6 separate regions of the Homo sapiens genome follow, and regions 1, 3, 4, 5 and 6 are each linked to region 2. The links are contacts of gene promoters, found by promoter capture Hi-C in blood cells and fetal thymus (Javierre and others, 2016). All regions are on one chromosome and are shown on one strand. The core of a region is centred on a gene start or on the middle of the fragment in contact, and the rest is flanking DNA. Distances in the headings are between cores, read along the strand shown. Region 1 holds the start of SUGT1 (SGT1 assembly cochaperone of MIS12 kinetochore complex). Region 2 holds the start of ESD (esterase D). Region 3 holds the start of ALG5 (ALG5 dolichyl-phosphate beta-glucosyltransferase). Region 4 holds the start of VPS36 (vacuolar protein sorting 36 homolog). Region 5 holds the start of PROSER1 (proline and serine rich 1). Region 6 holds the start of RFXAP (regulatory factor X associated protein).

Evidence for each region. Contacts are between HindIII fragments. The CHiCAGO score rates a contact against its expected background, and 5 or more counts as called.
Region 1: the fragment with the promoter of SUGT1 here is called in contact with the fragment with the promoter of ESD in region 2 in 5 of 17 cell types (activated CD4 T cells, non-activated CD4 T cells, total CD4 T cells and 2 more); the score reaches 12.2 in activated CD4 T cells.
Region 3: a contact is called between the fragment with the promoter of ALG5 here and the fragment with the promoter of ESD in region 2, in 2 of 17 cell types (non-activated CD4 T cells and naive CD8 T cells). The highest score is 8.0, in non-activated CD4 T cells.
Region 4: the fragment with the promoter of VPS36 here is called in contact with the fragment with the promoter of ESD in region 2 in 2 of 17 cell types (naive CD8 T cells and non-activated CD4 T cells); the score reaches 5.3 in naive CD8 T cells.
Region 5: the fragment with the promoter of PROSER1 here is called in contact with the fragment with the promoter of ESD in region 2 in 1 of 17 cell types (naive CD8 T cells); the score reaches 5.2 in naive CD8 T cells.
Region 6: a contact is called between the fragment with the promoter of RFXAP here and the fragment with the promoter of ESD in region 2, in 1 of 17 cell types (naive CD8 T cells). The highest score is 5.7, in naive CD8 T cells.

The regions. Positions count from the first base shown.
Region 1 is chr13:52,651,448-52,655,323 of GRCh38, reverse strand. It overlaps SUGT1 (SGT1 assembly cochaperone of MIS12 kinetochore complex), which reads right to left and starts at 2,488. Exons shown (of 13, transcript NM_006704.5): 1 at 2,366-2,488; 2 at 2,221-2,278. The coding sequence starts at 2,403. It overlaps SUGT1-DT (SUGT1 divergent transcript), which reads left to right and starts at 3,017. Exons shown (of 1, transcript NR_170300.1): 1 at 3,017-3,876. RefSeq lists enhancers at 2,008-2,127, 2,237-2,738, 2,848-3,187 and a silencer at 2,488-2,757. The HindIII fragment of the contact is 4,517 bases long and covers 440-3,876 here.
Region 2 is chr13:46,795,742-46,799,366 of GRCh38, reverse strand. It overlaps ESD (esterase D), which reads left to right and starts at 2,206. Exons shown (of 10, transcript NM_001984.2): 1 at 2,206-2,262. RefSeq lists enhancers at 2,289-2,338, 2,470-3,071 and a silencer at 2,649-2,698. The HindIII fragment of the contact is 4,378 bases long and covers 1-3,625 here.
Region 3 is chr13:36,996,822-37,000,595 of GRCh38, reverse strand. It overlaps ALG5 (ALG5 dolichyl-phosphate beta-glucosyltransferase), which reads left to right and starts at 1,256. Exons shown (of 10, transcript NM_013338.5): 1 at 1,256-1,361. The coding sequence starts at 1,296. RefSeq lists enhancers at 1-70, 531-580 and a silencer at 1,041-1,340. The HindIII fragment of the contact is 11,758 bases long and covers 1-3,774 here.
Region 4 is chr13:52,448,964-52,452,551 of GRCh38, reverse strand. VPS36 (vacuolar protein sorting 36 homolog) reads left to right here and starts at 1,918. Exons shown (of 14, transcript NM_016075.4): 1 at 1,918-2,053. The coding sequence starts at 1,958. RefSeq lists silencers at 1,672-1,731, 1,772-2,231 and an enhancer at 1,752-2,332. The HindIII fragment of the contact is 2,912 bases long and covers 1-2,537 here.
Region 5 is chr13:39,035,586-39,039,338 of GRCh38, reverse strand. It overlaps PROSER1 (proline and serine rich 1), which reads left to right and starts at 1,250. Exons shown (of 13, transcript NM_025138.5): 1 at 1,250-2,141. The coding sequence starts at 2,097. NHLRC3 (NHL repeat containing 3) reads right to left here and starts at 883. Exons shown (of 7, transcript NM_001012754.4): 1 at 616-883; 2 at 51-203. The coding sequence starts at 699. RefSeq lists a silencer at 1,540-1,769 and an enhancer at 2,912-3,021. The HindIII fragment of the contact is 10,591 bases long and covers 1-3,753 here.
Region 6 is chr13:36,817,899-36,821,855 of GRCh38, reverse strand. RFXAP (regulatory factor X associated protein) reads right to left here and starts at 2,634. Exons shown (of 3, transcript NM_000538.4): 1 at 1,899-2,634. The coding sequence starts at 2,498. LOC124903158 (a long non-coding RNA gene) reads left to right here and starts at 2,785. Exons shown (of 2, transcript XR_007063760.1): 1 at 2,785-3,689. RefSeq lists enhancers at 1,827-2,056, 2,067-2,116 and a silencer at 2,347-2,716. The HindIII fragment of the contact is 8,641 bases long and covers 1-3,957 here.

The sequences.
Region 1 (3,876 bases), core at 1,239-3,738, 5.9 Mb before region 2:
TCGCCTGGGCTGGAGTGCAATGGCGCGATCTCAGCTCACTGTAACCTCCACCTCCAGGGTTCAAGTGATTCTCCTGCCTCAGCCTCGCAGGTAGCTGATTACGGCTGCCCACCACCATGCCCGGCTAATTTTTTGTATTTTTAATAGAGACGGGGTTTCACCATGTTGGCCAGGCTGGTCTCGAATTCCTGACCTCGTGATCCGCCTGCCTCGGCCTCCCAGAGTGCTGGGACTATAGGCGTGAGCCACCGCGCCCGGCTGCACTTCTAATGAATTGCCAGGTGATGCTGATAATGCTGGTCCAAGAGCCATACATTAAAAACCAAGGTACTAATACTAGCCACATGACTATCCTAGGCAATTCTTCTCCTAGGTACATACAACCAAAAGAAATGCATGTGTTCACCAAAATACATGTACAAGAGTATTCACAGAAGCTTTTTGTTAGCTAATAACTAGAAATAACCCAGATGTCCACTGTTAGAATAAATTGCGCCGTACTTACGGCTATACAACATATATTTATACAATGGAATATTACACAGCAATGCGAAAGAACTACTACTTCACACAATATGAATGTATACTTATGTAATCATTAAAGCAAAAAGAGTGTCTACATTCAATAAAGCACCTACTGTATGATTCTGTTTATGAGTCAAGAACAAACAAAACTAACTGATGGTGATGGAGGTCAAAGCAGGAGTCAGCAGGACAGTAAGAAGAATTACTGGCTGAGAAGGCGCATTAAGGAGCATTATGAATGGAGATACTCTGTATCTTAATCTGGTGGTGTAAACATGTGAAAACTCATCAAACTATAGACTTAAAATCTGTGTTATTTACATAAATCATATATGCCTCCATAAAAATTTTTAAAGTAAAAGAAGATGGAAAGTGACAATAAAATTCATTATGTTAATACTGTTTAAAAGCAACTTTTATATAAACTGGATTCCCAAAGGAAGCACTAGGTCTAACACGACAATAACAAATGTAAATTAAAAGTCATAGCTGTCTAGCTAATACAAGAAATTATGGAGAAAAATTCTCAGTGCTTCCTGTAACATTATCCCCAAACTCATCCCAGAAGCCTTACTCCCAGTATCTAAAGGTCTATATATTTAGGTGTAAAAAACACACCTGGACCCTAAAAGGCCTTATAGGACCTGGCTCCTAGTTTCCTGTCCAACCTCTCTTAATCAAATGGGCCCTCTAATAAAAAGGGCCTTTTTGTTGCTTCACATACAGGCCAACTTCATTCCTACCTCAAGATCTGCACTGGCTCTTGGTCCTGCCTGGAATATTCTTTCCCCAGAGCTTCCAAGTTAATTCCCTTGTTCCTTCAAATCTCCACTCAAAGATCTCCTCAACGGAGGCTCTAGTACCATGTGGCACATTTCTTATAAAAGTCATAGCTAGAAAAGACGCTGTCTTGCCTCAAATTGTTAAACGTAACAGCAAAACAGGTTTCCTCTTTTCTGTGATTTAACGCAAAAACAAACAAAAACTCCTGGCTAAATTCTGTGACCCGCAGCATCATTTATCTTTAGGTTCTCCTTTAATTCTTATTATTTAACTCTTGATCTTTTACATTCCTTTACAGCTTTATGGTTTGCCTTCATTGCACACCTACAAAAAGTGATTTCTAGGTTAGCTGAGTATATAACCAAGACTTTAACCCACAGCAATCAGCGCCTTTGCACACAGCCACTCCAAAAAAAAATTTTGATGAATATACAAATGAGTGAATAATGAATTGTGATAAGACATCTGGAAAGTTTCAGGGACGTGAGGGAAAAGGGTTTTGCTCCAGTAGACTGACTTCATACCGACACTTTTACGTAAGAATGGCAAGAATTATTGTCAAACGAAAAAATTAACTTCATCGAGCCCAGAGTCCACTTCTCTAATCATAAATGTCATTAAAAAAAAAATCCTTTCAGCCAAACTACAAATGCCAACCATGCTCCCAAGAAATAGAGGAGGTTTTTCTCAGGAGCTGTAGGGAGTGGAAAGGGCAAGACAGGAGTCTGGGGTAACGCGGCTACCGTGTAACAGAGAAAAGAGACGGAGAATCTCAATACCGGAGCTGAGACGCAGCATCAACAAGAGCCTGGGTCCCTGTCCGGCGGTGCGGGGAGAAGGCGGGTCAGCGGGGACCCGAAGTGGCCCAGCTCCCCTAAGAAGAGTGGAGGAAGCAGAAATGGGCTCTCTCACCTCTAACGCCGCCTGGGGGTCCTCGTCGATTAGGGCATCCGAGAAGCTCTGGAAAAACCTGTCAGGAAAACAACGACTTCAGCAGGGCTCACTAGCCAAGGAAAGGGGGATAAAATAAATACCAAAGGGAAAGAAAAACATGCACCTCTGGGATGTTGCAGTTCCTGCTGCAGCCGCCGCCATCCCTCGTAGTCGCTGTTGCTGCCGCCGGAGCTGCTACTATCACGGTTACCACCTCCACCACCGCCCAAGGGGGAAACTTCTGGAGAAACACCAACCGAGCTTCCGTCCTAAATAGCCAGCGAGCAGCCACGCAGCGTGCTGCTAGGGGGACGGGAGGCGACACGCCGGCGCGGGGCCGGCTGGGACAGTGGAGGACCGATTCCTCCCAGCCGCACCCCGGCCCAGGACCCGCGCTCCCAGTCCCCGCCCCTCGCAGCCATGGTTACGGAGGCCTGGGGCGTACACGTTCTTCCTCCCTTCCACCGCGCCCACGCCAGCGGGCACTCCCACGGAGCTTTCAGTAGTACTTTAGAAGCACTTTTGTAACGTACTGTCATCCCTAAGGAACGTGTGGCGGTTAGGGGCGTTTGTATGTCTGTTAATAACGGAAGCTACTTCGAGCTCCCATTTTCCCTAGTTTTTATCATGGCTGCCACAGCTAGCCAAGCCCTTTCGCCTCCATTACGTCTTTAGCGGCTGCGTGGTCTCTTCCGGGAGCAGAGGCCCGGATGACGCGTGGATCCCCGCGATCTTTGGGCTGGGGATTCTAAACGACTGGGACTTGCCGGAAGTCATTCTGCACTAATAGCGGCAAAAAGCCTTCTGGTTCCTGGGGCGACGCGCCCGGCGGCCGTACTATTCACTTCCCCAGAACGCCACAGCCCAGGCTTTCTTCTTAGTGGGCTTCCCAGACCAAGAAGGGAAACCTTTCATCCGAAGGTACTGAGGGGAGGAAGGTGGCCTGAAGTTATCTCAGTGCCGCTTTGTTTCCCACCCCAGTCGGTCAGCCCTTCCTCAGCGCCCTTTAACCCTTGCAGATCGGATGGAGAAAGCTGCCAGCACGTTCTAGGGATGGGGGCAGATTGAGGAGCGGGAGGGAGTAGTCTTTGTCTAACTTTATACCAGTACCAAACTATGTTAATTTAATGTAGTTTTATAATAAATCTTTAAGTCCTGTAACTTATTCTCCCAAGATTGTTTTGGCTTATTCTACGGCCTTTGTATTTCTAGGTGAATTTTGGAATTAGCTTGTTAAAAAGGGGGGGGATTTTTTATTGGGCTCGCATTGAATCTATAGATCTGTTTGGGAAAACTAGTATCTTAACAACAAGTCCTTCAATCCATGAATATCATTCTTCCCCCACCATTTATTTAAGCGGTCTTTAATTTCTCCTGGCAATATTTTGTAGATTGCACATATATCTATATTTTAATGCAGCTGTGCTTGGATAGATTGCAGTATAGAGATCATATATATCTTTCATTAGATTTATTCTTGAGTATTTAGTGTTTTGTATACAATGTTAAATGGCATTTTGACTTTTTTATATTCTACTCGTAAGAATAAACAATATTGATTTTAACATACTGACCTTATATGCAAGCATCTTGCTAAGTTCCCTTGTTATTTGTAATACTCTGTAGATTCTTTCG
Region 2 (3,625 bases), core at 957-3,456:
AATGCACAGGGTAGGCCTCCACGACAAAGAATCATCTGGCCCCAAATGTCAACAGTGCCGAGGTTGAGAAACCCTGTTCTAGTCTGTGGAAAAGCCACAAGGACACTTCTCAAGTAGCATATTTGATACCCAAGAGATTATATTATTTTCTATGTATGGTGTCTTTTCTAGTCTCTCTAAAACTATCTTTGCTATGGATTGAATGTTTGTGTTCCCCAGAATTCAAACATTGAACCCTAAATCCTTAACGTGATGGTATTTGGAGATGGAGACTTTGGAAGATAATTACACCATGATGGTGGAGTCCATGTGAATGGGACTAGTGCCCTTACAATAAGATGAAGGAACCAGAGCTCTCCTCACCCCACCCACCAAGTGAGACTACAGCAAGAAGGTATTCCTCTGCAAACGAGGAAAAGGGCTCTCAGCAGGAACAGATTTCATCAGCACCTTGATCTTGGACTTCCCAGACTTTTAGAATGGTGAGGAATAAATTTCTGTTAAGCTGGAACTGACTAAAACAATCTCTTTTCTTACAGGCTTCAAGTATATTTGACTTTTTCTCATTTTTATTGCATCCCTTTATTGCCTCCTTAAGATTATATTCCTACTCATTTTAGTTCAAACCAAGAGTCCTATATCCTCTCAGCCACACATTTACACATAATTTTTGGACTATTTCTTTGTGTACTTAATATTCATCCATTTTTATTGGTAGTGCCATTTTTTAAAATGTCAACCTTAATTTCTGATTTCAGCCTTCTTTGCTTCCATGTCCAAATAATAATGATAATTATATATATTCTTAATATTTTTAAGCAATCGACTTTTGTGGATCTATTAACATTTTATTTATGCTGGGTAAAAGAAATTTTAGTTCTGCTTATTCTCACATTGTATTCACACAAGAACCCTTTAGTAAAGAACTTCACACTTACAGTTCTTTGGCTAGTCTGCACCTCACAGCAGTCCACTTATTAGGCAAATATATCATTTAATCAATTATTTCTCTTTGTTCAAACATCAGTTATAAAGAACTTGCAATTTAGGTATTTATTCTGTTTCAGTTTTGAAACTGAAGAAAATCCCCTTTTCAATGATTTATACTTAAAGATAGTAAAAAGAAAGTTTAAAACAATTTACTTCAATGCTTTCTCAAAATAAAAACATTATTTTGATGAAACATTATTTTCAGTCTAAGTTCCAATTGATCCACAGGTTCAGTCCACAGGTTAATTTAGTCCAAAGATCACTATGGCAAAATGGGCCTGAGCCACACAATAGATTCTGGCAGGTAATCTCTTGTGTGGCAGCTCATCCATACTTAAGTCAGCTCCCATAGCTACACAATTTGCAGGGCCCAATTCCAGACACAAACGTGGGGCCCTGGTTCAACACTTACTGAGAGAAAATGTAGCGTCCTTCTGTTCTGGGGGCCGGGTAATAGCACAGGTTGCAGGCCCATGAGGCCAGCCCCAACTATCAGATTGTGTATTTACAATGTCAGTCTAACCGTTGCTGAAAAATACTTAGCTCTGTTGTAATCAGATTTAATTTCTCAAGAGGCAAAGTACACTCAACAGTTTGCTTAAATCAGAGAGACCAAAAGGAAAGATTTGCTGTAAATTATCAACTAGCAAATCTTAGTCAGTTCAACTTAATTTTTATTGAGGGAAGAAGGGAGAAAACAGAAAACTGATGGAGTTCCCACTGCGTGTCGGCCACTGGAGATTTCAAAGGTTTCTTGTTTAACTCAAGCTACCAAGTAGGTGACGTGGATAGTCTTGGGACAGAGGAGTTGAGGGAGTTGAAATTAGGCCCTAGTTTCTACATAAGTGACACGGAAACCCTCTGCACGAGTTAAGCGAAGCTACATCTCAAGTTTATTAATGCCTCGGGTTCTTGCTGCTGGCTCTGGGAAGAGTCTGAGCACGCACAGCAGACTGATCCCCGACAAGGTGACAGGGACTAACCTAACGCCCTCCTCGTTGGTCCTAGTAACCACACAGAGCAGAAACGCGGGCGAAGGCAGGAGTTGGAGGGGGCGCCCACGCGGAGGCTGCCGGGAAGTGCAATGTGCAAAGGCGGCGGGGCCATGGAGACTGAACTGGAGAAGAGCGGGTTCTCGGAGTTAAAAGCGAGAGTGAGTGGGACCGGAGGGGCGGGGCATCATATGGGCGGGGCTGAGGCGAGGCCCCGGCGGCCATCTTGAGCCCCGCCTTTTACTTCGGCCCGCTTCTTCTGGTCACTCCGCCACCGTAGGTAAGACTGGGTTCGGGTAGAGGCCTGGACGTTGTCAGCCTTCCTGCGGCTGCGGCACGGCTAGGCGTGATCGGGGCGGACGCCGAGTCCTGCGGTGCAGGTATCCGCAGGCACGAGCGCAGAGACGGCGACCCTGGGCCTTGGGCGCCACCATCCATGACAGGAGGCCAAGGACCTTTTCCCGTGACCCGGAGCCTCGCCTCTAATCCCTTTTCCTTCTCTGAGCCTCCAACCTAGTGTAACCCGGGGCGAGCGCCCGTTTACCTACTGCCCGCTACATTTGTACAGCTTTTTCCTGTTCAGAAAGACTTTCCTAGACCCGCAGCCACCGCGCGAAAATGTGAAGTAGATGTGTACGCATTTTAAGGAGGGAGCTGGCCTCAACGCGTTACTAGCGGCCGCCGGCGCCTGGTTCGGGGGAGTGTGGACCTGCTGCTCTAGGCAGCGTCCGCGTCGGGGCACGAGCCAATGGCGCGGTCAGGAGCACTCACCTGATGGTGCCGAGGGGAGCACGTGTCTTTGGAGTTTGACAAAATCTGTTCGGGTCGTAAAATGCTCTCAGAGCGCTGTGGGGGACTGGAAGTCATTTCTGATGGGGTCATTAGGGAAATGGGATTGAGCGCACCTGGAAGGAGAGGGCATTCAGGTTGCAGGAAAAATAATAGCTCATGTTTGTGTGTGTGGTAGAAGCAGCATTTTAAGCACTACGTGAATTAACTCATTTAATTCCCAGAGCAACCCTATCAAATTGATATATATTACTGTATACCCATTTTGCAGATGGGCAAATGAGGCATAGATTAGCTTGCCCAGTGTCATGTAGTAATAAGTGGTGAAGTCAGGGTTTGAACCCGGAGGGTCTGGCCCCAAAACCTGCTCTGAAACCATTGTACCGTGGCATTGAGTAAAGCCACCCGATAGCAACATCCAGGCCATCCTAGAATTATGCATAGTTGAGTTTAACTAACAAAATAGGGAGTGAGACCAGAAAAATAATCTGGGACCAAATTATAGACCATATTTAGAGCCATGTGAAGGTGTTTGGCGTTTATAGATGCTATATTTTTTTTAAAAAATTTTCCCCAGAGTTTAATAGAAATCCTTACCTAGGCAAGCCATGTGAATTTTTATGAAGGAAAAGAGACCCAGCCTAGGCAGCATGGCAAAACCTCCTCTACAAAAAATTACCTGGGCATGGTGGTGCCACCTGTGGTCCCAACTACTCCAGAGGCTGAGGCGGGAGGATCACCTGAGCCCGGGGGCCGAGATGATTGCAGTGAGCCGAGATCAGGCCACTGCACTCCAATCTGGGCCACAGAGTTTGACCCTGTCTCAAAAAAAAAAAAAAGAAGAAAAAAAAGAC
Region 3 (3,774 bases), core at 7-2,506, 9.8 Mb after region 2:
TGCTGTTAAAGAAGGAGCGGGTCTCCCTCTTTATAAAAGAGCTGGTGCTGTGACTCAGAATAACACCAACAGTTCGGAGATAACAGGGTTTCTAGCGCAGAATCAAGCAGTGCGTGTGGAGCGTTATTCCAATGTTTCTGCGTCTTTTTTCTGCCTGTGACTTAGGCTCAGCCCTGGCCTTGCCTCTTCACTGGTCAAGGGCTCCGTGCTCCAACACATGAGAAACCTGAACTTTTTTTTTTTTTTTTTTTGAGACAGAGTCTCGCTCTGTCGTCCAGGCTGGAGTGCAGTGGCGCGATCTCGGCTCACTGCAAGCTCCGCCTCCCGGGTTCACGCCATTCTCCTGCCTCAGCCTCCCGAGTAGCTGGAACTACAGACGCCCGCCACCGCGCCCCGCTAATTTTTTGTATTTTTAGTACAGACGGGGTTTCACCGTGTTAGCCAGGATGGTCTCGATCTCCTGACCTTGTGATCCGCCCGCCTCGTCCTCCCAAAGTGCTGGGATTACAGGCGTGAGCCACGGCGCTCGGCCGAGAAACCTGAACTTTCTGTGCGCTCATTGTCCGCACCACGTTCTGCTCTGCAGGTCCCGGAGCTGAGGGCTCCTAAGCATCACCTTGTGTTGTAGACTGTGTCGTGCTCAAGGCTGCCATCTCCCTCCTAGGTGGGGTTACCAGATAAAATACAGGATACCACGTTAAATTTGAATGTCTGATAAACACAGCGTGGTTTTTTTGTTTTTTGTTTTTGTTTTTTTGTGGGTTTTTTTTTTTTTAAAGCATGAGTATGCCCCAAATAGAGCATGCAATTAGTTGTTGCCAGAACCTGGAGGGAGCTGGGAAGGCTTTACAGATAGATAGTGGTGATGGTTGCACAGTATGTATGTAATTAATGCCACTCACTATTGTAAACTTAAAATGATTAAAATGGCAACTTTTTATTTTACCACAGTTTATAAAAACTAATGTAATAAACCAGAAACCTGTAACTGGATGAGTCGTATGGTATGTGGCTATCTTAATAAGGCTGTTAAAAACATGATTAGTTTTTTAATCTGAAATTCAAATTAAGTAGACGTCTTGCATACTTGATAAACCTGGCGCCCCGCTGTGGAACCTAGCGCTCCTCTCCACCGACTGGGCGCCGAGGGCACGAGAGCGGCGTTTTCTCCGCCTCGCCACGCGGGGGCGCTGCGGCCAGCGGGCGCGACCTCTCTGGCGGCGGGGCCGGGTCGCGCGGGCGCGCTTCCGCCTGTGTGGAGGTGCGGGATTGGGCGGGCTGCCACGGCATGGAGAATGGCTCCGCTTCTGTTGCAGCTGGCGGTGCTCGGCGCGGCGCTGGCGGCCGCAGCCCTCGTACTGGTGAGAACAGGGATGGGAACCCGCGCAGGCCGGGGCTTACCGCTCTCCTGGAGACTGCGGCTCCTCAGGCGTCCCCTCCTCCGCGCTACCAGTTCTCGGAGAAGTCCCTTTTCCCCTAGATTCCCCCAAATTCCTGACCTCGGAGTTTCCTGGAGTTTCACTCTCCTTTTCTTCGGTTCTTTAATTTTCCCTTGGAATCTTATCTCTTTGTGTGCTCAGAGACTTGTAAGTTTTTTCACACTGGAGCGCACCCACCCGGCCTGGCATCATCGCCGCTTCCATCGCCCCTGGCGCCCGCGCCCCCTACCCACCTCCTCTGTCAACCTCGACCTCTCCCAGACTCTCCGGGACCTGCAGCCGCTGCAGTTCTGCTCCACCCAGGGAGGTCTCGAGCCCCCAGAAGGGGTGTGCTCCCTAGCCTGCTCCCTTGGCTGATGTGGTTAAGCAAATAGGGGTGACGGAGCCTTGACGGCAGCCATCTGTTACAAATGGGAATAAATGCGTGGATCGATGAGACCCACTAGGGACGCAGGGTGAGCGAGAGAGACAGGCCTCAGGCGCCTTGTCCGGGGTCGCATTGTGTCCCAGAATTAAGCACCCTAAATATACTGCCCCTAAACAAGGCAGGACGATAGAATGCAAACTCGATTGTCTTTGCCCTTGCTCTCGAAACACAAAAACATTGTAAACACTTGCTGATTGTTAAGTGGTAGAAAATTGGCGAACTCTCTCCCGCACACCTTGGAATGAGCCTGCCCTCTAGTTAGTAAGTGGAGAGGATTTCAGCTTCCTTGACATTCAGATTAGCCACCTAGACAGCACTGCCAGGAAGGCCACTCTGCCATCTTTCCAGAGGTTGTATAAATTTACAGTTTAGATAAAATGTAATGCATCCTTACTTCTTTGTTGATAGTATCTGGGTGAGAGAGGAGTCCTCTCTTGCCCTAACTAGTAGAGATTTCAGGGTTTAGGGCTTTTTTGTTTTTTCAAGTTTTTGAGCAAACCAGGATTGATTGATTGATTGATTGATTTTTGGCGGGGTGCGGGCGGGGAGTGGATTCACACATTCTTAGATTGAAGCTGCCTTACTTTGGGTCTTTTGCACAGATTTTATGGGATTGTACTGACGGTATTTGTTCCCACTAGCTTGAAGTGATAAGAGCTACCATTTATTGATTGTAGTACTTACTATATGTTGTGTTGCACTTGGTTTAATAGGAGTTATTAAATCTTTAACACTGTGACATATATGTTATCATTAGCATTATTTTACTGGTGAGGAAACATGTTGGAGAAATGAGCTCGTGTACTCAAATGTTGCACAACTAGTGAAACTTAGGTTTTTTAAATGCCAGAGCAAGAAATCATTAAAAAAATAATTTTTCAAAACCTCATCCTGTCTTCATATGTATCCACTCTCCATTACTCACAGTCTCACCTCCTTTCTGAATTATTTTAAAACAACTCGAAGACATTTTATCTTTAAATCCTCAGCATTTATTTCTAACAGATAAGGTCCTTCTTTTTAAAATACCACAATAAAGTGGTCACAGATTTAAATTTATTCTGTGATTTCAAATGCCCCCTCAGTTCACTTGCCCTCACTTGTCTCATATATGTCTCAGTATATATGTCTGTTTGTTCCAATCAGGATCCAAACAAGTGCCACACATTGTACTCTGTTGATGTCTTGAGTCTCTTAATCAGTTGACAGTTTCTCCTCCCCCTTTTTTTCTTTTCCTTGTCTTTTTTTTTTTTTTTTTTTTTTGAGACGGAGTCTGGCTCTTGTCACCCAGGCTGGAGTGCAGTGGTGTGATCTTGGCTCACTGCAACCTCTGCCCTCAAGCAATTCTCCTGCCTCAGCCTCCTGAGTAGCTGGGATTACAGGCGCCTACCACCACTCCCGGTTAATTTTTGTACTTTTAATAGAGATGGGGTTTCGCCATGTTGGCCAGGCTGGTCTCGAACTCCTGAACTCAGGTGATCCACCCTCCTCGGCCTCCCAAACTTCTGGGATTACAGACATGAGCCACCGCGCCCGGCCTTTTTCCTTGTCTTTAATATGATCATTTGTCCTGTAGAACTTCTCACAATTTGGATTTCTTTGATTGCATCCCCTTAATGCCTTTTAACATCTTCTATCTCAAATTTTCTATAAACTGGTAGTTAGGATGGAGAGACCTGATCACATACATACTCGATGTGTTTTTTAATCAAGAAAAAATTGTGAGTGATGCTTCTTCCTTTCTCTTGTGTCTCATCAGGAGTCATGTAATGGCCATTTGTCTCTGGTGTTAAGATGGATCTGTGGTTTCAAATGTTGCCAGCCAGACCCACCAGTTTATAAAGTTTGTCATCAGCCTAATGGTTTTAGTAGTCATTGAGGATCATTACCTAAATGCTTTATTTCATT
Region 4 (3,588 bases), core at 669-3,168, 5.7 Mb before region 2:
CATAACTGCACAGTTCCACATCTGATTAGGATGCTTAGGTCACATTACTTTCAATTAAAAAAGACTAAAAAGTTGGTAAACAATCAAATGCTCAAAAATCAGGCAATGATGGTAAATTGTGATATATATTGATAGCATATTACAGCAAATCAAATGTTTTCAAAGAACTTTTGGTTATTGGGTATATGGTCATGATGGAAATTGAAAGATATGAAATACAGAAGACACTGTTTAGAAATAGACCAAAATACACACAGGATTTTGGAACACGGTAAAAGTAGCAATTCATTTCGGGGGAGAGATGGCTTATACTCATTGGAAAGAGCCTTTCCTTTCTTTTAATGCCTAGCCACAGACCACTGACTCCACGACTGGGGGAAATGTGGAGCCCTGGGGGCAGAGAGCAAGCCTGCCCTCTGTCCCTCTGCCCCTGTGCCCCTCTGCCCACGTGGGCACGCAGCCTTAGTTAAGACCCCAATAAGTGGTAGGCTCTCTAAAATGTGTTCACAACCTTTAAAGCAGTCATTCTATTTTAGGAAGACACTGTAAGAAAATAATCCTAAAGAGAAAAATATGTATCAATTGTAGAAGGACATCTATAAGCTGCTCCATTTATTTATTTATTTATTATTTATTATTATTATTTTTGAAGCAGAGTCTCGTTCTGTCGCTCAGACTGGAGTGCAATGGTGCGATCTCGGCTCACTGCAACCTCTACCTCCAGGGTTCAAGCGATTCTCTTGCCTCAGCTTCCCGAGTAGCTGGGATTACAGGCACCCGCCACCACGCCGGGCTAATTTTTTGTATTTTTAGTAGAGACAGGGTTTCTCTATGTTAGCCAGGCTGGTCTCGAACTCCTGACTTGTGATCCGCCCGCCTTGTCCTCCCAAAGTGCTGGGATTACAAACGTGAGCCACCGCGCCCGGCCAGGTGTTCCATTTATAAAGCAAAATACAAAAATGAAATGGCTAGGGGCACGAGGCCGCCTGGTGGGTGAGAGCAGCGGCCATGGATGGCTTTGCGCAGACCAACAAACAGCTAAATTATAGAGGAACTACATATTGAAATGTAAATTCACGCATGAGGTCTGTATTAATATTGAAAATGCCTAAATAAAAATAATCTTTTTTTTCTGAGCCTGGGGGTGGGGGAGTGGAGTGGCGTGGGGGAGTTGGGGTGGAGGGGGAAAGGGTCTTTCTATGTCGCCCACTGGTGTCAAACTCCTGGGTTCAAGCAATCCTCCCGCCTCAGCTTCGGAAGCAGCTGGGAATACAGGCGCGCGCATCAAGCCCGGTTAAATAAAATCTGTTTCCCCCAGTTAAAAAAAAATTAATTTGTGTGGGTACATAGGTGTATATATTTCTGGGGTATATGGGATATTTTGATACAGGCATACACTGTATAATAATCACATCAGGGTAAATGAGGTATCCGTTACCTCAAGCATTTATCCTTTGTGTTACAATATAATCTTAAAGGGAAAAAAAGAGCAGCACAGGTAGTACTGACTGCAGCTGTACAGAAACAATGCGTGCCATAAATATTCATTTGAAAGAGAGGGGTTATGATTATTTACAATCATTAGCGAATGTAGCAACATTCTGGGCACTGACAAGAAAACTGCCACAAACATGCAGGCATAATGCACAATAAGCAAGTCCAAGCTGTGGTCGGGGCTCCCTCGCGTCCCTGTAAGCTCTGAATTTAGAATGGGGTGGACCGCCTGCTGATCAAGGGTTCTGAAAGGCCGGCGGCTAATGGACCGCCAGGGGGCGCTCCACGCACGTCTCCACGTCCCCGGGCGCACCTCGCAGCCGCGCCCGCTCGCTGCCAGGCCGCTCCCTCCGTCCCTCACCCGCCCCGACTCGCTTCCGTCCCGTCCGACGCTAGGGGGCGCCGCAGGCTGCCTGGCGCGCTGCTCGCGGCCTCGGAGGGCCGGGGCTGGGTGGCAGCGGCCATGGACCGCTTCGTTTGGACCAGCGGCCTCCTGGAGATCAACGAGACCCTGGTGATCCAGCAGCGCGGGGTGCGAATCTACGATGGCGAGGAGAAGGTAGGGCGTCTGCCAACCTTCCCAACGGGCTGGCGGAAGGGACCCCCGGTGGGCGCGCGGCCCGGCTCAGCGCGGCCCGGGTCGGCGCGGCCCGGTCCCCGGCTTAGCTCACGGCCCTCGGCGGCCCGGCAGGCCTCTGTGCGGGGTGCAGCGCTCTTGCGCTCCCCGCCGGTCGGTAGCACGTGGCGTGGGGCGCTCGGCTGCCTCCCCAGCGCGGGTCCCAACTTTGGCACGGTTCCCAGCAGGCGCGGATCGCGGCCGCTTCCCTCCGCCCGGAATGCTTCCGGGAGCGCACAGCTGCAGTGCCCGGGAGAAGGAGCGCTCGCCGTCTGCGGGCGCCGGGCGGCGATCCGGCAGTCGACTTCCTTGGCGTGGTTCCAGACCCCCTGACGACACCAACCTCGGCGTCGGCACCGGACAGCCCCGTTTCGCCTTTCTGTGAGGAGGGCGCGGTGGCCGTACAGTCCGTGCCCCAGCGGAAGCTTTAGCTTGGACCTTATGCAGTCGGAGGGATTAGCATATCTGGGCAGAGGGGTGAGGGATTGCTTCGAAAGGATTTCCTAAAGAGGTATCAGTGCTTCATTGGAATGCCCTTGCCAAAGGCTATTGGGTTTTTGTTTTGTTTTCTAATTGCTTTAGAAAGGCGTTCTGAGCGTGTTTTGTAAAGTGTTATATTAATAGTAGACCGTGCCTTGTAGTGCAAGCATAAATCTTAGAAGGTGCGTTTGCAAATCGAGAGGAGAAATAGGAAGTGTAAGTAAATATTTTGTAGATACTTTACTGAAACTATGAAATATCTTGTCCTGGATTGAAATGGATAAACTGGAATTAGAAAAATTTTAAAACTCATTTACCCACAAGCATTTTTGGTTTCCAGAAGTTTTAATTTGCTACCTCTCTTCCCTTGCCGTTTTATTAACGACACTTTCCGCTGTACTTTGATATAAGTTCCTCAACTCAGCTTTTCCTGGTAAGTGCTTACAGCTATTTAGAGGCACAGGTGACATTGGACCCAGGTCCTCTGACTCTCTTAGGGCATTTTCTATGGGCTGTGTTGCCTGTATTAGTGAGTAAAGGTCTTTTCCTTAAATAATTTGCTTGGACCTAACTTCACTTACTGCCTTAGCACTTCTTAATTTAATTAATTAATTTATTTATTTTGAGACAGAGTCTCGCTCTATCGCCAGGCTGGAGTGCAGTGGCGCGATCTGGGCTCACTGCAACCTCCGCCTCCCAGATTCAAGATCCTGCCTCAGCCTCCTGAGTAACTGGGATTACAGGCGCCTGCAACCATGCCCGGCTAATTTTTGCATATTTAGTAGAGACGGGGTTTCACCACATTGGCCAGGCTGGTCTCTAACTCCTGACCTCAAATGATCCGCCCGCCTGGGCCTCCCAAACAGCTGGGATTACAGGCTCTTGAGCCACTGTGCCCAGCCTGCCTTGGCACTTTAACTATCTTGATCTCAAGATGAGTCTTCCATCCCCGGATTGGAGTGACAAGCTATTTTTTTCTCCTTTCTTACCAATTTACA
Region 5 (3,753 bases), core at 1-2,500, 7.8 Mb after region 2:
GCTGTTACTTCCTTTGTGTTCATAATTTTTTTAAATCTCTATTTACTTACTTGACCTATGTAAACCAATCCATTGAGGGAGTCAACTGCAACACAAAATGTTGTTCCGGTAAAATATTCTGGGTGCTTAGGCCAACCCACATCCAGCCGGTAAAGAATTTTCTCAGTTCTCCAGGAAACTGCAAAAGTAAAGTTCCTCAAAACCTTAAACAAAATCAGACAATTCAGATTTAGTTTACCGTCTAGGTAAGAACAAAAAAAGGGCGGGGGGGCCGGGTAACAGGGCTTATTTTTAAGCATGCCTTGACAACTAGAAGTTTGCTGGACTGAAATAATTCCAAAGAAATGAGCTTAGATGCCTAAAGACCAACACGACCACAATACAAGTCTGCAAATTATTTGAGGATGTAGTAAGAGTTGGGAAAGAGGAAAATGGCGATGTAACATACACAAATTTTTAAACTCAAAGGGTCAAGGCAGTTTGGACCCAGGTGCAGGCTTTGAGACAAGCTACTGAGGGAACCAGGGCCTGCCACCTCCATGCCACGACCGTGGCGACGCCTCCCAACAGGGCTACCCGCACACCCGACAGTCATTTCCTCACTACCCAACTCACTGGAGAGCCACAAAAACGCGAATGCAAAACCAAAAATGCAAGAAAGAAGCCAGCACCGGCTACGCAGACCCAGAATCTCGCCATGACCAGACGGGAAGCCAGGAGAGGGAGGGTCCGCAGGTGTCTGGGGGAGGACCTGACAGCCTCAGGCTGCAACGGTTTGCAGCGGCACAGAGGGTCTGCCCGGGGCCCGAAGACCCTATCTCCGGTTTCCCCTCCCTGGATGCACGAGCTTTGAGTACGAAAGGGAACAGAGACCAGGGCGAATGAAAATCACAGAAGACCAGTTCCGGACTTCGTGTGCATTTCGGGGTCCCCGCCCTCATGTCAGGTGCTTCGGGCTGACCCAGTGACCACCCTTTCCCGCCCTCAGGGCAGTCCGCGCCGCTGACTTTCAGTGGCCACCAAAGTATGGGCGCCCGTAGATATGCCTTAATCGCTCGCCATTTATTCTTTTTAATCCAGAGGGCAAAATCAAAACATCGCACACTCAGACACGAGGTATGGTGGGGATGACATTCAAAATAATGACCGCTAGGCTTCGGGAAGGATTTTTGCCACATCCTATTCCTACCATCCAGGCATCCGCTATGGATGCCTATATTCCCACACCAGGACCCCACCTCTGGCTTTCAGGAAAGAGGGGCCCAAGCTGGCGGCGCAGTGTTGAGTTTACTTGGGCGCGACTGGCTTTATTGTAGGTCCCCATGAGCTGGTGGGGGCTGTAGGGGTAACCAGGCAGGGCGTCTGGCGCTGTTGGGGCTGCGTTTTTCCGGAGTCCCCCTATGCGAGGCCGTGCCCCTCTTCGCCCGGCTCCTGGTGCTCCCCAGCCGCCGGCCCGCTCCCGGAAGCTGCAGCAGCTGGTAACAAAGAGCCTGCCGGGCCGCCTGCTGCCGGGGCCGAGGTATCCAGGAGTCGGGCGGAGCGGCTGGGGATGAGCGCGAGCCGGACCATGCGTCCGGGTTCGCGGCGGTGAGGGTCGCGGCCGGCGGCCGAGGCGCAGGTGCGGGTCGAGAGACCGGCGCCTCCCTCCCCGCCGCCCGTGGACTCTGAGCGCAGGTGTTTCTACTCTGCCGGCCGCTCCACCTGGGAAAGCGCCTTCAAGAGCTACCTCTGGCGGCACCTGGCCCTCAGCTGCAGGGAAACCGCACTCAAACCTGCCGCCGAGCCCGGGTTTTTCTGCAAAACTCAGAGGACCTGGCTCTTGCCCGAGGTGCCCTGAACCATTGTGTGAATAAGCTGGGGAAGCCTGACTGGAGTGTTTTTTCTTTTTAATAAAAAGAGTTTTTCTGAATCTCAATTTTTAGAAATTTTTTTTGCGAAGTTTGCAATACTCTCTACCTCTTCGCATCCTCTCTTGCTCGTGGAGTCTTTTTCCTCCTCAGCTATAAATATTTTTTACTATCGGCGGAGCAGACCAGGGATGAACGTCTTTTAATTGCAAGTATAACTGTTAAAACCACGTCGGGATAGTAGTCAAGATGGATAAAAAGTCCTTTGAAATGGTGCTGGATGAAATTAGAAAGGTAATTAGACCGATTCCATGAATTATTTTATGAGATGAATTCTCGTGTTTTAGACTCTCTTTGAGGTACTGTATGGAGATTGTGCAGAATAAGGGTCCTAGGATTGCCAAATTGGTTTGAATTTTCACGTGTAATGGAGGAGTTTATATCTTGATACGTTTCCAGTACAAATAGAAATTAAGTTACGTTAACGCCAAATTTGAGACTCAGCACGGTGTCGTGGGAATTACATTTGTAAAGCCCTCGGTTCCAAAGCCGGCTTTACAAATCCGTAATAGCTCTGTACTTTTTGGGTAAGGGGTTTAATATTTTTGAGTTTATTGCCTCATCTTTCAGTAACACAAGAGTGACTGAAAACGAGAGGTAATACGCAGAAAGTTTCTTTTATGGTAGTTATTATGATGGGGTTTTCAAATCTAAGCATAAGGTAGAGTATATTTGTTGCGTTGGCCATGCAAAATTCGTGTCCTGATGGTAAGTGTGGCATTAAGTTTAAAGTCACGTTCTTAGGAATTGGCCGTCAATAACTTGAGCTTCAAAACTTTTTTCTCCTGCTTTCCAAGTTTTTGCTGCTTTTTGAGGCTGTTGTGTGGATCGCATTTCCCAGAGTGAACCAGACAGCAACAATTCTGGAAGGTAGTCTTGAGCCTAACAATATCTCAAGCACAAAAATACCGAGAAGTTACTTATTTTAAAATGTAAGGACTTGATGTACCATTGTTACATCAACACACGGTGCTTTCCTTCGGCCTTCCGGGCAATTATTCTTTCGTCAGCTGCATACCTTTACGACCCTTGACTGAAACGGAAGAAATTGTTGCCATGTGCTCTGGTGCTTATTTCAGTTTACAAAGCTATTATTAAAATTGTCTCTGGTCTTGCTGTTTTGCTTTGTTTTTATACAGCTTTTTTCTTTTTTCAAATTGACGTGTTTAAGTTTTCATATTTGATAATACTGAACATTCTTTTTTGAACAAGTTCTGCTTTTGCAAACCTAAGTGTCCAATTAATTTTTGAAATAAAATATTGGTTTGCTAATTATATGCCTAGAAATTTGTCACAATTTGTTCTTGGGCTGATTTTTAATTACTTTTCATGAGAAAATAATTGGTGAGTCCAAGTAGACCAGCAGATTTTTACTTTTGGAAGATACAGGGTCTCAGTGTGCATATTCTCTTCCTGGTGTCATAAAAACGTCACAGTAAATTCTAAAGAGGGGAATAGGAAATTTTCCAGATATGAAAGTGTTGTTCACATGAGATGGCAACTTAAGTCTGTATTTCTGGTCAGCAGTTAAAATATATCTTCTGCTGGCTTTGCCGAGTGATTAGACACATCAACATTGTCATGGTCTATTAAAATGGAATAAAATATTGGCATATCTAAATATGAGCATTACTACTGATTTTCTTAAAAATCGTTCTTTGTAAATGTAAGTCAGTTTAAACCAGGTCATCTCTTGAGTATCACAGTGAGTTTATATGATAGATAATACTGATTGTCACTACTGTCATTTAAAACAGAGGCATATAAGAAGCCACTAGCAGAAGAACTGGGAAAGGGAGTAGAAAGGGGGAAAAAGCAATGGTTAACTGATTATTCAAAAAGGAGG
Region 6 (3,957 bases), core at 1,385-3,884, about 10 Mb after region 2:
TTAAAGTTACATAGTGGATTTTTCTAGGAAGAGTCTTCATTAAGTCACCAGACCCTCAAAGAAGTCCTCTTACTCCAAAAGAGTAAAACTTAAGGGAAAGAGAAGTCACTCAGTCCTAACCAGTGTGAATTAAGTATGACACACTGGCAACTGCAAATTTTAGAAATATTTAGAATATTATACTTTTTGTTTTTGAGACAAAGTCTTGCTCTGTCACCCAGGCTGGAGTGAAGTAGCACAACCATGGCTCACTGCAGCCTCAATCTCCTGGGCTCAATGATCCTTCCACCTCAGCCTCCCGAGTAGCTAGGACCACAGGCATGTGCCAACATACCTGGCTAATTTTTAAAATTTTTTTGTTGAGATGGGGTCTCCCTATGTTACCCAGGCTGGTCTCAAACTTCCGGGCTCAAGCGATCCTCCCTCCTAGGCCTCCCCAAGTTCTGGGCTTACAGGTATTAGCCACTGAGCCTGGCCTAGAACATTACATTTGTAAACAATTACAAGGTCTAATATTTTAGTGATGGAGCACTTCAAGTTCAGCCTGAAACTAAGAAATTTAAAGACTTAGAATACATCCTAGGACCCTAAGACAGCTTGCAGTTAAAAAAAATTTTTTTTTTTTTTTTTTTTTTTTTTTTAAGGAGACAGGGTCTTGCTATGTCATCCAGGCTGGAATGCAGTGATGCAAACAAGGCTCACGGCAGCCTCGAACCCCTGGTCTCAAGCAATCTTCCCACTTCACCCTCCCAAGTACAGCTGGGTATACAGGCACTTGCCACCATACCTGGCTTGGATCACTTGTAACAAAATTAAATTTTTCTCTACACTAAGGGATTATATAGCTCTCACAAGAAGAAATATCTGCTTATTTGTGACAGCCTCAAAGTATACCACTAACAATGACAATAATAATGGGTAAGGTTTGCAAACTTTAGCCAGTTGCTGGACACTGTGTGAACCCTCAATATGGAATGGCTCACATATTCACAGCAACACTATGAATGACACACGATTTTAATGCCCATTTTACAGAGTTTAATAACCTATTCAAGCCACAAGGCCAGTAAATGATGCAACAGGGATTTGCACCCAGAAGTCGAACTCCAGAACACTGGTTTTACCTTTGACTCAGTTCAAATCAAACAATCCAAAAGTTTTTTGAGACTTATACCCCATTATCATCCTTTTTTTCCCCCCTCAGGGGTACTAAGAAAAGGGGTAGTGAGAACAGGGTACTAACAACAAGGATACTGAGAACAAAGTATATTAAGTATTGGGGTAGTGAGAACATGAGAACAAGGGACTAAACATAGGGGTACTGGGAACAGAGTTGTAAGAAAAGAGTACTACGTACAGGGGTACTACAGACAGGCAACTGAGTATAGCAGTACTAAAAATACGGTACTAGGAAGAGGGTTAACAGAACAGGACACTAAAAACAAAGTACTAAATACAGGAGTATTACAAATAGAGGTACTGAGAACTGGGTACTGAGAACTGGATACTGAGAATAGAGTAGTGAAAACAGAAAGAGATGACTTTCTCAGAAGTACCAACTTCATCTAGGTTCCTAAGTCTCCTTTAGCGATGAACCAGACCGATCATTTACTCTATGTCCTTCCAGCCATATCCCAGATCTATGACAGCTCTGCCGATGTCACATTATTTTTACTGAAATTTCTGCACCTATCATGAGTTCAACAGAACTGTTATTGCTTTGCACATGTTGGTATAAACTTTAATTTAGGGCAAACACTCTAATTCTCAACCACTAACCCAGTCACTGCAAACCGGCCCATTTGGAAGTGGGGAGGCAGGCCCTGCAGATGCGGTTTGCGTTAAGATCGGGTTTCTTCTTCCACCTCCCATCCCCAGGCCTCAGCTAAGTCTGATACCTCGAGTTTGACGTTTCCCGCGCTGCCAGTCGAGGCAGTCCCACCGCAGTTCAGGGCCTGGTCGCTCTTCTTCTTTTTATACTTGTCCTTGTACATCTTGTTGCGGTGTTTCTTGCACATCCACGGTTTGCGCTGCTTGGCCACCTGGCTCGTGGTCTCGCTGCAGCCTTCGTAGGTGCAGGTCTTGCTCATGCTGCCCCCACCGCTGCCCCGCCTCCGGGCGCCCCCGCTGCTGCCCTCGCCCCCCGAGTGAGTCTCCTCGTCCTCTAGATCCTCCAAACTAGCCGCGCTCTCGCCTCCCCCCGGAGGGTCCGAAGTGTCTAACAGGTCCGCCTCGTCCTCCCCAGCCTCCTCTTCGCCATCCCCGGCCCCTTCGCACAGGTACCTAACGGGCTTGCCCGCCCCAACGCTGCCCCCGGGGGCCGCAGCCTCGTCCTGCCCAGCACAGGGTTGCATCACTAGCAGGGTGAATTGAGAGGCCGCGGCCGCCACCGAGGCTGGCGCCAAGGTGGGAGCCGCAGCCGGGGCTAGGGCCGCGGGGTGGGGCACGCCGCTGGCGGCGCCCGGCCCCGCGCCCTCCGCTACACCCTGCGCCTCCATGCTGCTAAGACCTGGCCGGGGTCCACGACCCCGGGCTTTTAGCACCTGCTTGGCCTAACGGCACTTCGCGAACCAAAGACTCAGGACACGCTGGGGTAAAAGGCGCCTATACCGGGAAGGCGCCCCGACTGCGCCTGCGCGACCGCAGCCTGCGCGTCAGCGTGTGTACGCCCGCGGGCTGTCAGGGAGCGCGGCGCCTCTGGGGGCGGGGCTGAGCGCACAACCAACGGGACTGACTGCGCATGTGCGGCCGCGGCCCCTTCGGCCAGCTGGGGGATTCGTAGACAGGGTCTGGGGGCTGTGTCAGGTGAAAACCTGCAGTGGCTGGCAAGGCAGCGCCGTTTTACCTGATCCTATTGTATCTAAAGCGGTTCAAAGTATCTTCTACAGGAGTTCCAGTATGCAAATTAGGATTGTTCCTGAGCGGTCTCACGACTTGTAGTGTTAGGATGCTAATTTTATTATTTCCCCCACAAACTGCCTGCAAGGGGAGATTTGAAGCTGGGATGCAGTGGTGTCACAGCCTAGAGTCACTAGCTCGCAGTCCATGAAGGCAGAGGTGGCTTATTTGAAAATAGTGGAGCGGAGAGGGATGGGCCACACCTTTGGCCGAGTTGTATTTGCATTGAGGGATAACTTTGTTTTTTTTCTCCTGGAAACTCACTTGATTGTTAGTACTTGCTCTTTGCTGTGGCTGCTGAGATAAGTCTTAACGTTTTCGTTTAACACAGTGAAAATGTGTGAAAAGGAATACTGAATGGCAAACGTTTAAAAAAACAATGAATGTTCTACCAGTTCTATCAGTTGCTGGGCAATTGCTGGTTGTTAAATCTTGGCTTGCCCAAATCCCAGGAGAGAAAATATCCTGCCGTATCCTGAACTGTTAAGTAGATGTTCTTTTTCCCTTCATCCTATTCTTTCGCCTAGTCAGATTTCCCATCCCACCTACCGGAAAGCAATGACTTTATTCAACAAACTATAAATCCATTCACACTAAGATGTTTGGGTGCTGACATATAGGTAGATCAGTTATGTTTTAAAGAGAGGCATATGGAAGGGAGAAGGTTTGGAATTAGAGCAACCTAGGTAGTACTTCCTGTGTGACTACAGCAAGTTCGTGACAGCCTCTCCGAGCCTCAGTTTCCTCATCAGTAAAGCCTGCAGTCGGTGGTGTGCTAGCGCCAACTGATGGTAACTGGTTGCTAAAATTTCAGGAATATAATTAGCAGAAAAATTAAACACTGCTATTATTAAAAGTCTTACTACATAAACTTACAATAAGATTATATTAAAAACAAAGGGTACAAATCTCAAAACTCTTCATTTTCTAATTATTTTATTATGTTTTATCATTATCTGTGCTTTTAAGGTTATTTATGTCTATTGTATCTGTATGCGGAAATATTATTTAGTGGTGTGTTACTGCACATTTTCCCAACTCTGCCTTCAGTATGTCATG